Linked DNA regions of Homo sapiens: region 2 is linked to region 1. Evidence: promoter capture Hi-C in human tissues and cell types (Jung and others, 2019). All regions are on one chromosome and are shown on one strand. Each heading gives the region's core, a stretch centred on a gene start or on the middle of the fragment in contact. The rest is flanking DNA. Distances are from core to core; before and after follow the strand shown. Region 1 holds the start of TFCP2L1 (transcription factor CP2 like 1). Region 2 overlaps TFCP2L1 (transcription factor CP2 like 1).

The links. Contacts are between HindIII fragments. The study calls those that stand out against the background at their distance.
Region 2: a fragment that was not itself captured here is called in contact with the fragment with the promoter of TFCP2L1 in region 1 in 1 of the 25 tissues and cell types used here (aorta).

Annotation. Positions count from the first base shown.
Region 1 is chr2:121,280,717-121,286,938 of GRCh38, forward strand. TFCP2L1 (transcription factor CP2 like 1) reads right to left here and starts at 4,486. Exons shown (of 15, transcript NM_014553.3): 1 at 4,332-4,486; 2 at 404-555. The coding sequence starts at 4,393. RefSeq lists a silencer at 4,512-4,651. The HindIII fragment of the contact is 14,413 bases long and covers 1-6,222 here.
Region 2 is chr2:121,233,573-121,239,939 of GRCh38, forward strand. TFCP2L1 (transcription factor CP2 like 1) reads right to left here. Exons shown (of 15, transcript NM_014553.3): 8 at 5,986-6,077; 9 at 4,230-4,278; 10 at 4,051-4,144; 11 at 1,649-1,739; 12 at 519-622. Among named protein-coding and RNA genes, the nearest start is that of TFCP2L1, 48 kb to the right of the region's middle. The HindIII fragment of the contact is 6,690 bases long and covers 305-6,367 here.

The DNA.
Region 1 (6,222 bases), core at 3,236-5,735:
TCATGCCACTGCATGCCAGCCTGGGCAACAGAACAAGACCCCCTCAAAAAAGGAAAAAAAAAAAAAAAGAAAGAAAGAAAGAAGGAAGGGAGGGAGGGAGGGAGGGAAAAACAGAAATAATGCTAGCATCTGCTCCATGGAGGGGCTATAGGAGGAATGCAGAGTGTTACCCTGTTACCCGCGTGAGGTATCTGATGTTTCCATTTTTCAGATGAAGACACTGAGGCTGGAGGGGGTCACACAGCTGGAAAATGGAATCTGAACCTGCACCTGTTCTCTTTCCCGAGCCCGACCTCGCCCGACCTCACCCACCGTAACAAAGTCACAAGGCCCAAATGGGCCTTTCGCATCAGCTCCCCACTACTTCTGGGTTCCGCCCTGGCCCGGGGCCTCTGGCCACTACCTTGGTTGAGGTAGGTCAGCGTCTCTTCATGCAGCTTCACGGCTGGGGACGTGGCAGCACACAACACATATTGCAGGGGTGGCAGGCGGGCCTCGTTCTCGGGGGACAGCTGGGGTTCCTCCTGCTTGAAGATGGGCAGAGCGAGCACATCACTGCAACACACGGGAAGCAGAGGTCAGGAGCAGAGCCCCAGGGGGCTCCTGCACAGAGCCAGGGCGAAGCTAGAGAGACGACGCAGACCACCGGGGCCCAGGGTGACACGGCACGCGCATCGCAGGGTGCTGGCTGCACTCCTGCAACCCTCGAATACTCCAGATGCTTTAAAACAGAGGAAACCGCTCCTTCGTGACTCTAGTTTCACTCAATGACCCCCCAAAACACTGATTCAATCAGCCCATCAAGGAGGTAAAAGGGCAAAGTTAGCTAACATCTACAGAAATCCTCTCCATGCCAGAGACAGGCTAGCAGCAAAGGGACCTCTAAGACATTTATTTGGTTTCTATCCACAAGCGATCACTCATAAAGTTTCACTTTTAGAATAAAAATCTAAACAAACATTTTTATTTTTTAATCAACAATTCCATTTACCGGCCACTTCTCATAGCAATACAACTCTGTCCTCCAGGCTCTGTAAACTATGCAAATGAACAAACCACTTCCTTCCCTCCCTGAGTACCCAGGTTGAGACATTCCTCCATCCCTTCTAAAGAGAGGACAACTGGACACTGTTTTCAGGGTCATTCTAATCTGTCCAAAAGGCAAACAGGAAGGAAGGACCTTGGCTTCAAGTCTGTGTTTGTGTGGTTGTTTTTTTTGGGCGGGGGCGGGGGGGACGGAGTTTCACTCTTGTTGTCCAGGCTGGAGTGCAAGTGGCGTGATCTCGGCTCACTACAACCTCCACCTCCCGGGTTCAAGCAATTCTTGTGCCTCAGCTTCCTGAGTAGCTGGGATTATAGGAATGAGCCACCACACCTGGCTAATTTTTGTATTTTTAGTAGAGACAGGGTTCCACCATGTTGGTCAGGCTGGTCACTAACTCCTGACCTCAGGTGATCCACCCTCCTCGGCCTCCCAAAGTGCTGGGATTACAGGTGTGAGCCACCGCGCCCAGCCCAGTCTATTTTCTTATCCAAGTGGGAAATCTTGAAATCCTTGCTCCAAGTTTCTTTTCCTCCACCTCTTAACAAAACTCTCCACATTAAAAAAAAAAAAAAAAAAAAAAAAATGAAGTCATCATCCTGCGACTTAGGGAGGAACTTGTTTCTGGACGTATTTTTTAAGCCAGGAACAGTGGCTCATGCCTGAAATCCCAGTACTTTGGGAGGCTGAGGTGAGAAGACTGCTTGAAGCCAGGGGTTTGAGATCAGCCTGGGCACCATAGTGAGACCCCACCATCTCTAAAAAAAAAAAAAAGGAAAAAGAAAGAAACAAAAAACCCAGCATTTTAAAAATGCCCTTACAAGGGACAAAGAATTCCTTGAGAACATGAATGACCTACAGGCAGGCAAGGCTTGTGTAAGGTCTCTAAATTATGAGCAGCACATAAACAAGTGCCAAATAAGTGCCAGTGCTCTTATCTTGATAACCCTCTTCCCTTCGTGGGTCCCTGACTAGGAATCCAATTAGCTGACCCCACTTGTCTGTATAAACAGAGTCACTGGTACAATCTGTTCCTCGCACATCATAAACAAGCGTCTCTACAACACAAACCCGGCACACACCCCATCAACATCTCATCAATTTTGAGAAGAAAAAGCCTGGCATTGAGCACACACCTGGAAAACCTGCCCTGTGTGGGCCTCCCCCGTCACCATCCACTGCCGAAAAATAAGGGTGCAAGGCCGTCTCGACTTTCCCCCACAGGGCGTCTTCCTTTTGTCAGAGCAGGGCACACTCCCAGCCCGGGTGGTTCTCTAGGAACACTGAGGATTGCATAATTTCATGTTTGCCCAGACCATGTCAAGTTAATAATCCACGGACTGCTGCCTTTAAATTTTTTAAACAGGGGCGGGTGGGCAGAGGAAGTTAAGAACCATCCCTCAACAGTAACTTGTTTCAAGCCTGGCATCTTTATTTGCCAAGGAATAAAAGTCACGAGAACATCAAACAGAAAGGGGGAAGGGAGTAAAGGCCTCTACCCTGGTGAGGTCAGACAGCTTGCAGAAGTTCTGCCAAGTGAGGAGACGACCAAAAATAAAATACAAAAAACGCAAGGAAAAGGACCAGACCCTCCCTCTAGAGTCAGGGGACCAGGGGCATATGCACAAACCGCCACCTTGGCCCTCACTGAGGGCAAAACTCCCAGCTTCCAAGAAGTGAAATAAAAAAGGGCAAGGACTTCTTTATCCATGGTCCCCCGATGACCCCAGAAGCCAATATGGCTTTACAGCACCACCCACTCCCAACGCTCACCCTCCTCCTTTCACCAAATCCTAAAAGGTACCTGAGCTACTCCAGACAAACTTCCATCTCGGTAGCAGATGTCAGAACTGTACCTCCCAGGCAAGGGAGAATTGTTCCCTAACGGGGTGAGGACATTGTAGGTATCTAGGAAGTTTCAAGTACACTCACCTTCAACTCAGGGTCACCTTCAAACTCATTGTTAAGATATGGCAACATACTTAATGGCAGCAAACTAAAACTTAGCCAAAGCTACAACTAAAACTTCAGTACAGTAAAAATGTATTCCATTGTAGCATTTCTTGCAAGTGAATGGACACTTAATCTCTGGGTGATTAACATCTCCTCCTGGGCTTCCCTCTGGTGACATCACCGTGGTCTGCCGGGTGGCTGTCAGCCTTTAAGGCTCTAGACCTTTGCCATCTCCGACTACTTTGGCCCATGAATAAAAACAGCAGATACATCCACTAAACCCAATCATTCCCCCGCCTCCAGGAAAAGGGGATGTCTTCAGGGAGGACAAATACCTACCAGCAGCCAGGAATTACAAATAACGTTTTAAGATCTAAGTGGGAACTTCTTGGGGCCAAAACTAGCACTTAAAGGTAGCTCTAGTATGGGGGCTGTCAATGCCTGTGACTCCTTCGGCCTCATCATTCATTTTCCTTGAGCCCATATCAAATGCCCTTTGGGTTAAATTAGGCACATTTCATAAACTGTGACTAAGATGGAAATAAGGACAGGCTAAAGCTGGTTCAGGCGAGTTCACAAAGTGAAATGACTGCCCATTAGTCCCGGCCAGCAGCAGAACAGGGAAAAACAATCCTCCGGGAGCGAGAGCACACGGGGTCCTACTGCTAAGAGGGGCCTGTGGGGAACTGTGCAAAACACGCAGGACTTACTTTCCCCTCTGAAGGGCACTACTCAAATCCCTCCAGCAGAAGAAAGATTTCCATCAAGGGCAATAACCACGCGGGCCTCGGGCGAACACGCGCAAGACCATCGCGGGAAGTGGGGCGGCCTGCCCCTCCGAGCCCGCCGCCCGCCCCTCGTCCAAGGAAGGGCACTGCAGAGGGCGCGAGGCTGGGAGAGGGGCCCCGGCGGAGACGGGCAAAGAGCAGGGGACGAACTTCCCCGGGCCGGGCACCAGGCTGCTGGCAGGAAGTTTCCTCTGCTTCTCCGATACGCGGGGGAGAGGAGGGCCGCAGGGGGCGGACGGGCCAGGGGAGGCGGCGGGCCGGCAGGTGCGCGCCCTGCACCCTCTCTGCCGCCTGGGAGGAGCCCTCGCAGACATAGGGCTCTGCGCGCTCGCCTCCCCAGCGGGCCCCCAACTCCGCACGTCGGGTCCCGCCGGCGTCCATCTGTCAGTCCCTAGGCGGGACGCTGGGCGGGTCTCTCAGTCCCCAGAGGGCGGACAGCGGGGAGGCCAGGGCCCAGCAGGGGCGCCCCCTCTCCGCCCCTGGACGTCCAACGGCGCCCGGCCCGCCGGCCCGGCCCGAGACCCGCGGGGACCGCGCGCGGCCCTTACCGCAGGTAGCTGCCGGAGTTGTGCTGGTTGTAGTGCTCGGGCTGCGTGTGCCAGAAGAGCATGGCTGGAACTCCCAGCGCGCCGACCGGGGCGCGGCAGCAAGCGCAGACGCGGGGCGCGCCGAGGACCCAGCGGCGGCTTCGCGCTCCGAACCCGCGGTGCCGGCCGGCTCGGCGCATTTATCGGCGGCCCAGGGGCGGGACAGCGGTGAGACCCGCCCCCCAGGAAGCGCGGCCCGGAGGGCGGCTCCCCGCGGCAGCCGCACCTGGCTGACTCCCGCGCGTGCCTTTCCGGCGAGCGAGCGCGCCTCCGGGGCGGCCAGACCAGAGGGCTCTAGGGCCGGCCGGGTGCTCTCCCCAAACTCCGATGTGGGGCTCAGGTGACCCTTGCCGCCCCCAACCCGCTCCACACGGCCCCTCTGGCCTCTGCTCCCCACTCTACGCCCAGGGCCGGTCTCCAGAGCGGCTCCGAGATTTCCAGCCTAGGCCCTCTCTGTCGCCTTTCCTCGCTCTTGTTTTTTCATAGCACTTCAGACGCTCTGAAATCATGGGGGTTTTTTTGTTGGTTTTTTTTTTTTTGAGACGGGGTCTCGCTCTGCCACCCAGGCTGGAGTGCAGTGGCGCGATCTCGGGGCTCACTGCAACCTCTCCTCCCAGGTTCAAGCAATTCTCCTACCTCAGCCTCCTGAGTAGCTGGGATTACAAGCGCCCCCCATCACGCCTGACTGATTTTTTTATTGTTAGTAGAGACGGGGTTTCGCCATGTTGGCCAGGCTGGTCTCGAACTCCTGACCTCAGGTGATCCGCCCACCTTGGCCTCCCAAAGTGCTGGCATTACAGGCGTGAGCCCCCGAGTCAGGCCGACATTTTTTTATTTTTTATTTTTACTTGTGTACTGATTGTCTTTCCCATTAGACTGTAAGCTCCAAGAGGACAGGGCCTGGCTCGCTTAACACCCCGTTACCTGCACTGCCTAGAACAGTGCATGGGACATAGTTAAGATAAATGTTTGTTGAGTAAACATAAAAAAAGAAAAAAGGAATGCACCAAAAGAGTAATCAGAGAAGCCTTCCTGGAGGAGGTGACATTGAGCTGAGACCTGATGGATGCAAAGGAAGCATCTCTGTGAACATCACCTAGGGAAAAATAGTTCCAGGCATAGTTCCCTACCCCCTTGGCAACAGTGACTGCCAAAGCCTTGAGGAAGACCTACTTGGCATGGCTGGTCTTGAGGAGAGCTTAGGAGATGAGGTGAGGAGGGCGGGGAAGATCAGAGGGCCTGGCAGGCCAGGACAAGGAGCTAGGATTTTATTCTGTGTTTTAAGCAGAGGAGTCACATGTATGATTTGCCTTTTGGAAAGATCAGTCTGGCAGCAGTGTAGACAGTGGGTCATGGGGTGGAGGGGAGGGCCATTAGGAGGGAGTGGAGTTCCCTGGAGCCCTGACCCCTATCCAGGTGCTATCCGGTTCTCCAGTACATGGCACAGCACCTGGCACAGAGGAGATGGGGATTCTGTCCCTGAGTATTAATCCAGTCAAATGACATCCCTTGGGGACCTGGTCCAGAACTCCCCACTCCCCCACGCATGGATGTGGGTAAAACCCTCCCTCACTCTGCTGTTCCTGCCCTCCTCCCTCCAGCCATAGGTCACAACTGGCAAACCACTTCCTCTGTGCAGCCCTCAAGGACTGCCCCCCACTGTTCTGCCCTGTTAGGAGAATGGGAATATTTCCCCGGCTTCAGGTGGTGCTGTCAGCAGACAGTCCCCCAGCCATCGGCTTCTCCAGGAACTGCCCCTGCTCAGAGAGCAGCCTTGCCCTCTGTCATGTCCCTCCTGGGATAGCCCACATCCCAATGACTATCCCAGCAGAAGTATAAAAGCTTGGCCATC
Region 2 (6,367 bases), core at 2,400-4,899, 48 kb before region 1:
TGAACCACCACACCCAGCCACAATTTTGCTCCTAAAACAAACCAAGCTGCCAGCAAAAAGAATTAGCAGGATCCCAGGCTGACGCCTTTCACCATGGCCACTGGGAGTGCTCGGTGGGAGCAGGAAGGCTGACAGCCACGCCTCTGAGGTCCTCGAGAGTCTCCTCTCATCAGGAGCTGCATCAGGAGCAGTTTGAGGAAACAAAAAGCTCCAGGGTGGGCATTCCTGCCTCCAATCCTGACTGCCACTGACTGGAAGCAAGATCTGGGACAATCCCAACACCTTCCCAAGCCTCGGGGTGTGCACTAAGGCAGCACCCACACTGCGGGGCCGCCACGAGGTCAGACCATGCACCATGCAAGGAGCATGCACTAGGCTGCCCTTTCCACGTGTGGGCATGTGGGAGCCCAGGACTGTCCTGCACATTCACTGGAAATGAACAGAGGCCAGACTGCGGGCTTGAAAGCCAGGCTGCGGGACCCAATGTGTGGGTCCCAGCTCTGCTCCCCACAACTCACCAGACAGGTTGCTGTCTCCACTGCCGTCCCGCTTCTGCTGCAGGGGCACTCGATTCTGCTCCAGCTCCTGACAGACATAAATGGTCATCTTTGGCCTCACATTCCTGGCAGGAGAAGAGAAAATAAATAATAGGTGTGGTGGACCAGGCGCAGTTGTTTCAGAATATTCCAGGATGGAAACAATAGTGGGCAGAACTCAGGGAGGAAGAAAGACAGCGGTGGTGACGTGGAGTGCCTGTCATGGGGTGGTGGATGACCCTCCCAGGTCCCGCAGCCTGCCAAGGGGCACTCTGCCCCAGACCATGAAGCTCAACATACAAGACGTTTTCAGGCAACAATTAGAGCAAACACTGTCTGTGGCTTGCTGTGTATCAGGTATTGTTCTCAGAACATGCGTAACTCATTTCATCCTCACAAAACTTGCAAGGGAGCTAGGACTATCGCTCTCATTCCACAGTTGAGCAAACTGAGGCTCGGAGGGCAAAGGGCTTTCCCTTCACTGCACAGCACCTAAGAGGCAGATCTGGGACTCAAACCCAGGCTCTCACTCTAAAACCATGCTGTCCATGTGTGGCTATTAAAACTTAAATTCACTAAAGTTAAATAAAAATTTCGTCCATCACATCAGCCTCGGTCCAAGTGCTCCACAGCCACATGTGGCCAGCACGGCTGCAGAACGTCTCTGCCATGGCAGGAAGGTGTGCAGGACGGCGCTGCTCTGGAGTCTCCCCTGAAACTGCTGCATGATACCATCTGACCAGCCCCAAGTCCACAGCTCCCCTCAGCGGGGGAGCAGCTCCGAGCCCAGGACCACACAAGCATCTGAGAACATGGGCAAGTGGCTCAGAGGCCGAGATCCAGAGGCCAAGGCTCTCGTCCAACCAAGAAGAGGGAGGGGCCTCCAGGCAGGGTCTGCGGCAGCTGGCCACATCTCCCACTGCAGTGTCTCACTCCCCTGCTGTGGCCCGTGCCCCTCTTGCCACATTTCCTCCTACACTTGACCCCACACTGCAGGAGTCCTGTCCCCCCAGCCAGACCACCCACCATCCAAAAGGCTGAGGTAGGGGTTTCCCACCACATGCCACGGGACATGAGCCTCTGGCTGGCTTCACAGAGAAACCAACACCTACCGGCCTTTGATGGCGTTGAAGAGCCGGATCCCATCTGCGGGACCACAGATCTGGACCAAATCATCTCGGGACATCTTCAGCAAGTCAGCACCTAGGCAGGAAAAAAACGGGGATGCCTGTTACATGGAACCCAGAGAAAGGGCTCGGTCCCCAACCAGCTGCAGACCCCATAGCACTGGGGGTGGGGGGTGGGGAAGAGCCAGCTGCACTATCTCACAGAGAGAAAATGGCAAAATGCTCAACAACATCAAAAGATTGCAGCCCAGGAAGTGCCAGTGCTCACAACAGTGAGTACAACAGAAGCCAATAGGTCCCCACTGCCTCATTGCCTGCCCTGCTTGCTTTCTTTCTTTCTTTTTTTTTTTTTTTTTTTTTTTAAGAGACAAGGTCTCAATATATTGCCTAGCCTGGCTGGTCTTGAACTCCTGGGCTCAAGCAATCCACCTACCTCAGCCTCTCAAAGTACTGGGATTACAGACATGAGTCACTGCATCTGGCCTCTTCTCTTTTTTTTTTGACATATAATCTGTATGCATAGATGTCATCAGCACAGGGCACTGGCCATGTGTGCATCTGTCTGTATGTGGAAGTATACAGCTCGCTGGATGCTGACAATCTGAATACACCCCAGGACCCAGCACTCAGAGCCAGCAGTGAAACATTGCCAGCCTCCTGTAGGCCCCTCGTACCAGCCACCACCCCTACTCCCACCCAGGGGAGCCACTATCCTGACTTGCTACAGTGCAGACACGTTTTGCATGTTCTCTGAAGTTTCTGTACATGGAATTGAACGGTAGGCACTCTTCCTGGTCTGGCTTCCCTCCCCGCAAGTCATGTTTCACGGTGCATTTGTGTGGAATGTAGTCAGAGTGTTCATGCCCGTTATTACCTATCATTGTGTGACTACACCACAATTCACATACCCACTTTATGTGGATGGGCGCTGGGGGGGCTTCAGGTCTGGGCTGTTATGAATAGGCTCTCTGAACGTTCTCATACATGTCTTTGTTCATTACACAAGGTGCGTGTCTGCCGGGTCTAGCCCCGGAGAGGGCTGCGGGATCACAGGGTGTGTTTGGCTCTAGCAGATACTGCCAGCAGTTTCCCAGAGTGTTGCATCTATGTATGGTCCCACCAGCAGCATGTGAGGACGGGCCCACAGTTAAAGGAACATAGGAAGGTGACCGTCTCATGGGGACAGAAGTGAGCACAGCGTGAGGGCTGCCCCTTCCTCAAAGCCCAAGGGGTCCCCGAGAGCCTGGTCCCACACACTCTCCAAGGTACTAGTATATCAGCCTCAGGTGAAAGCCTGCCCAAGGCCACAATTCCCACTCCTCTCCTCTCATCACAATAAGATACGGTTTTAGGTACAATTCTATAGACACAATGGCTTCCTTTCCACTGGGAGTAAAAGCCGAAGTCCTTCCACTGTTCTTCCAGGGCCCCCATCCTGTCCGTGTCCCTTGGTGCCTCTCTGACCTCTCCTCCCCGGGCCACTCCACTCCACTCCACCTGGGTCCCCTGCTCTGTGACCACATAAGGCAGGTGCCCACATGGTGGCTGACTGCCCTACTTAAGACACAGCCGGCACTCCTCCCCCACCTCCACCCAGTCCAGTGCAGGGTCCTCTCTGAACCCCCACTCCAATCACACAAGTCACGCTGCACCGAAATGAGTGGTTTATGCATCTGTACTGACTTACAGCTACAAGCTCCCAAGGACAGGGACCCTCCCCCAACAGGCTCTCAGCAATGCCGAGCTGAGGATGTGCGGGCGTCGTTTCTCTTCCACTGCCACAGGTGTCTGTGGCATCCGCTCCTCTAGTTGTGGCCAAGCCTTTACTCTGTCACTGTGGATGAACTCTACTTGGTGACAAGGCTCACTGCTCAGTTCACCTTTGCACTCCACAATACCTAGCTTGGGACTTCTGTCTGAGGGCCCATCAGGAAGGGCTCTGACACTTTCTAAAGAAGGAAGAGCCCCCTTTCTGTCTCACCTGTGGCCTCACCTCCAGCTCCCAGGTCGTGGCTCTGGAGCCAATGTGAGGAGCAGTATTTGGGTAGGAAAAGCATAAGGGGCCCTGCATCACCCTGCCGGGCTAAGGGGACTCTTCCTGGACAGACCAGAGCCCACCAACCCCCCGCAGGTGAGGAGATCTTGACCAAGTCACCCAGATGGTCCCCCTCAAGTCACACTCACTTGGGACCTTCTGGGGGCAGCATCACCTATGTCCAGCACTTGGCCCAGGGTTGGGGCACGTGAGCGAGCGAACCCACACTATCTCGGGTCTCCCAGCTGAAACGACAGCGCTGCCAGTGTTGACAGCAAGGCCTGGAAGGTGGCCAGCCTTGAAGTGTCTCCAAGATACTCATGGGCTTTAAACACAGTTCGGAGATGCTCACCTGAGAAGCTGGCAAAGAGCCGGCAGAACTGCGAGAACCTGTTGCGGTGAAGCCACTGCTGGGCATCCTGGATCGAAGCTGATGGGAGCAGGTGCTGTGAGCAGAGGGGAGAGGCCTTGAGATGGTGGCTCAGGGCCCACGAGGGACCACCAGCCAGAAAGCCCTGCTCAGACACTTACGTCACTGCCCACGGGCAGGGCCTCCACCGGGTGGGTCGGAGAGGCGTTGCTGCAAGGAAAAGGAACCAGTGATGAGGACAGAGGGGGCTCCCAGGGCAATGGCCACGGTCCCGGCACCCAGCCTGGCACTTTTACTTCCTATCAGATGCAGGATTTGTTCTAAGTGAAATGAGTCCTCAAGAATTTCCTGAGTCACAGAAACACAGCAGGAGCCAATGTCCAATCCCTCAAAATCCCTAACTGAGCCTTCATTGTAGACAGCAAGTTCTGATAGGCTACACTGCCCCAGTCAATGACACTCCTCTACCCTGAGTCACCGGCAACACATCCCAGGCCCCTGCTGGCTGACCCCTGCTGGTCTTGAACTTGGAGATTCAAAGCCCCAGCCCCAGGGAAAGGCACGCTGACCAAGGGCACCCAGAGCCTTGGCACCTGAAGGCTACCACCAAACTCAAGGGTCCTCCACCAAACCCTTTGTCAGGTGGTGAGGGGAGAGGGCATAAGAATCCCACGGGGAGTTATTTTGCAGTGAACAAGCACCCGCAGCTTGACATCCATCCACGAGGAAAAGCACTGTTCTGTTCTCTCCCGAGAGGGGGTGCACAAGCTTCCTCGGGGGCCAGGTTGGGGATGAGGCACAGACCTGAGCGCTCTCCAGGTGGACGGCGGTGAACGCTGCACAACAGTGTGAATGTACTTAATGCCACCAGACTGCACACTTAAAAATGGTAAATTTTGTGTTATGTATATTTCTCCATAATGGGAAAAAGAGACCCTCGCAGGGCTGATCCCCAGACCGGTCATCAGTGAAGACAGCCGCCACTTCTCGCCAAGTGTCTACAGGGTGCAAGCATCGTACACTTGTTCCTCCCGACCCTGTGTAGAATTCTTAACCCCCTTTTGTAGTAGAGAAACTGAGTCTCAGGGAGGTTAAGGGAGTTACCCCCAAAAAGGTACAGATTGAAGACTAGGTCTGCCTGAATCTAAACATGACACCATTTCTGTGTCTACCCCCGCTTCCCTGGGGACTCCTTGGTAAAATCAAGTTCACAGACAATCTCGCTTTCTTATTAGAAAAGTTCTGTCTGCCAAGCATGGGCTCTGACGAACCTGCAAGCAGAAAACAGGCAGCCTCCCACCCACTCTCCTGCCTCCACCCCTGCTGCCAGCACAGGGCATGCAGAGCCATCACGGTGACCCATGGCCCCGTGCTGTGCAGCCCACAACACTCAGGAGAGTGACTGTCCTGTCACAGCATCCTCAGGGTCCATGTGGCCTGTGTGTCTGCAGAGCTGTGTGGGACAGCAATGAAGCCAGTTTCTGTGTTGTAAGGCCTGAAACCCAAGGCAGAGAGGACCCTAGCCAGACCCTCTCACCCCCACACTCAGTGACCATGCTGGACAAAGAACCAGGAAAGGCCCCCCAGACAGCTGCTCCCTAAGGCACCACTGTCAGGAGGGCCATTCTGCCCCAGAGGGCACCAGAGGCTGTCTTGGGTGGCTGACCGCATGCACCCTCAAGCCAGTCCTGGTTTCACCAGGTAAGTTCTGGGCCGCTGTCCCACCCGACAACGTTTACAGGGGTGTTTCTGAGCACTAAAAGTTGTGTAAATGCTGAAGACAGTTGTGACTGCAACACGAGTTAGCTACCCTGAAACCCAAACAGAAAGGAGAGGAGACCCAGAAAGGAAGACTAAGAAAGGAAAGTACACCTGCCTTCATTTCAGGGAACCCGAAGAAAGAGAGGTGGGACGTACCCTTCGCCGAGGCCAAAGCTGTTTGGAGAACCATTGTAGCTTGGGGACGGGGCGCTGTTCACCTGGTAGGCCACGTCGGGCCATGGAGAGCACTGCAGGAGAGAGCACAGGGCGAGCTGGGATCTGGAGAGGCGCTGAGCCGTGCTCCCCAGGTCCTCCCAAGCAGGCATGCACTGACACCAATGCATGAGACCCCCACCTGTGAAACGCAGCCTGCGTTTACCCAGTGCCCACAGTGAGCCACGGCAAGGCAGGTTACGAGGGCCACATGAAGGAAACCAGCAGAAATGTTCAGTAAGTCACCCCTGGAGCAAGTGAAGTACCCAAGGGGTCTCTCTGGGCTTCCTAGCAGTAAAACCAGAGGGGAAACATCACAGTCATG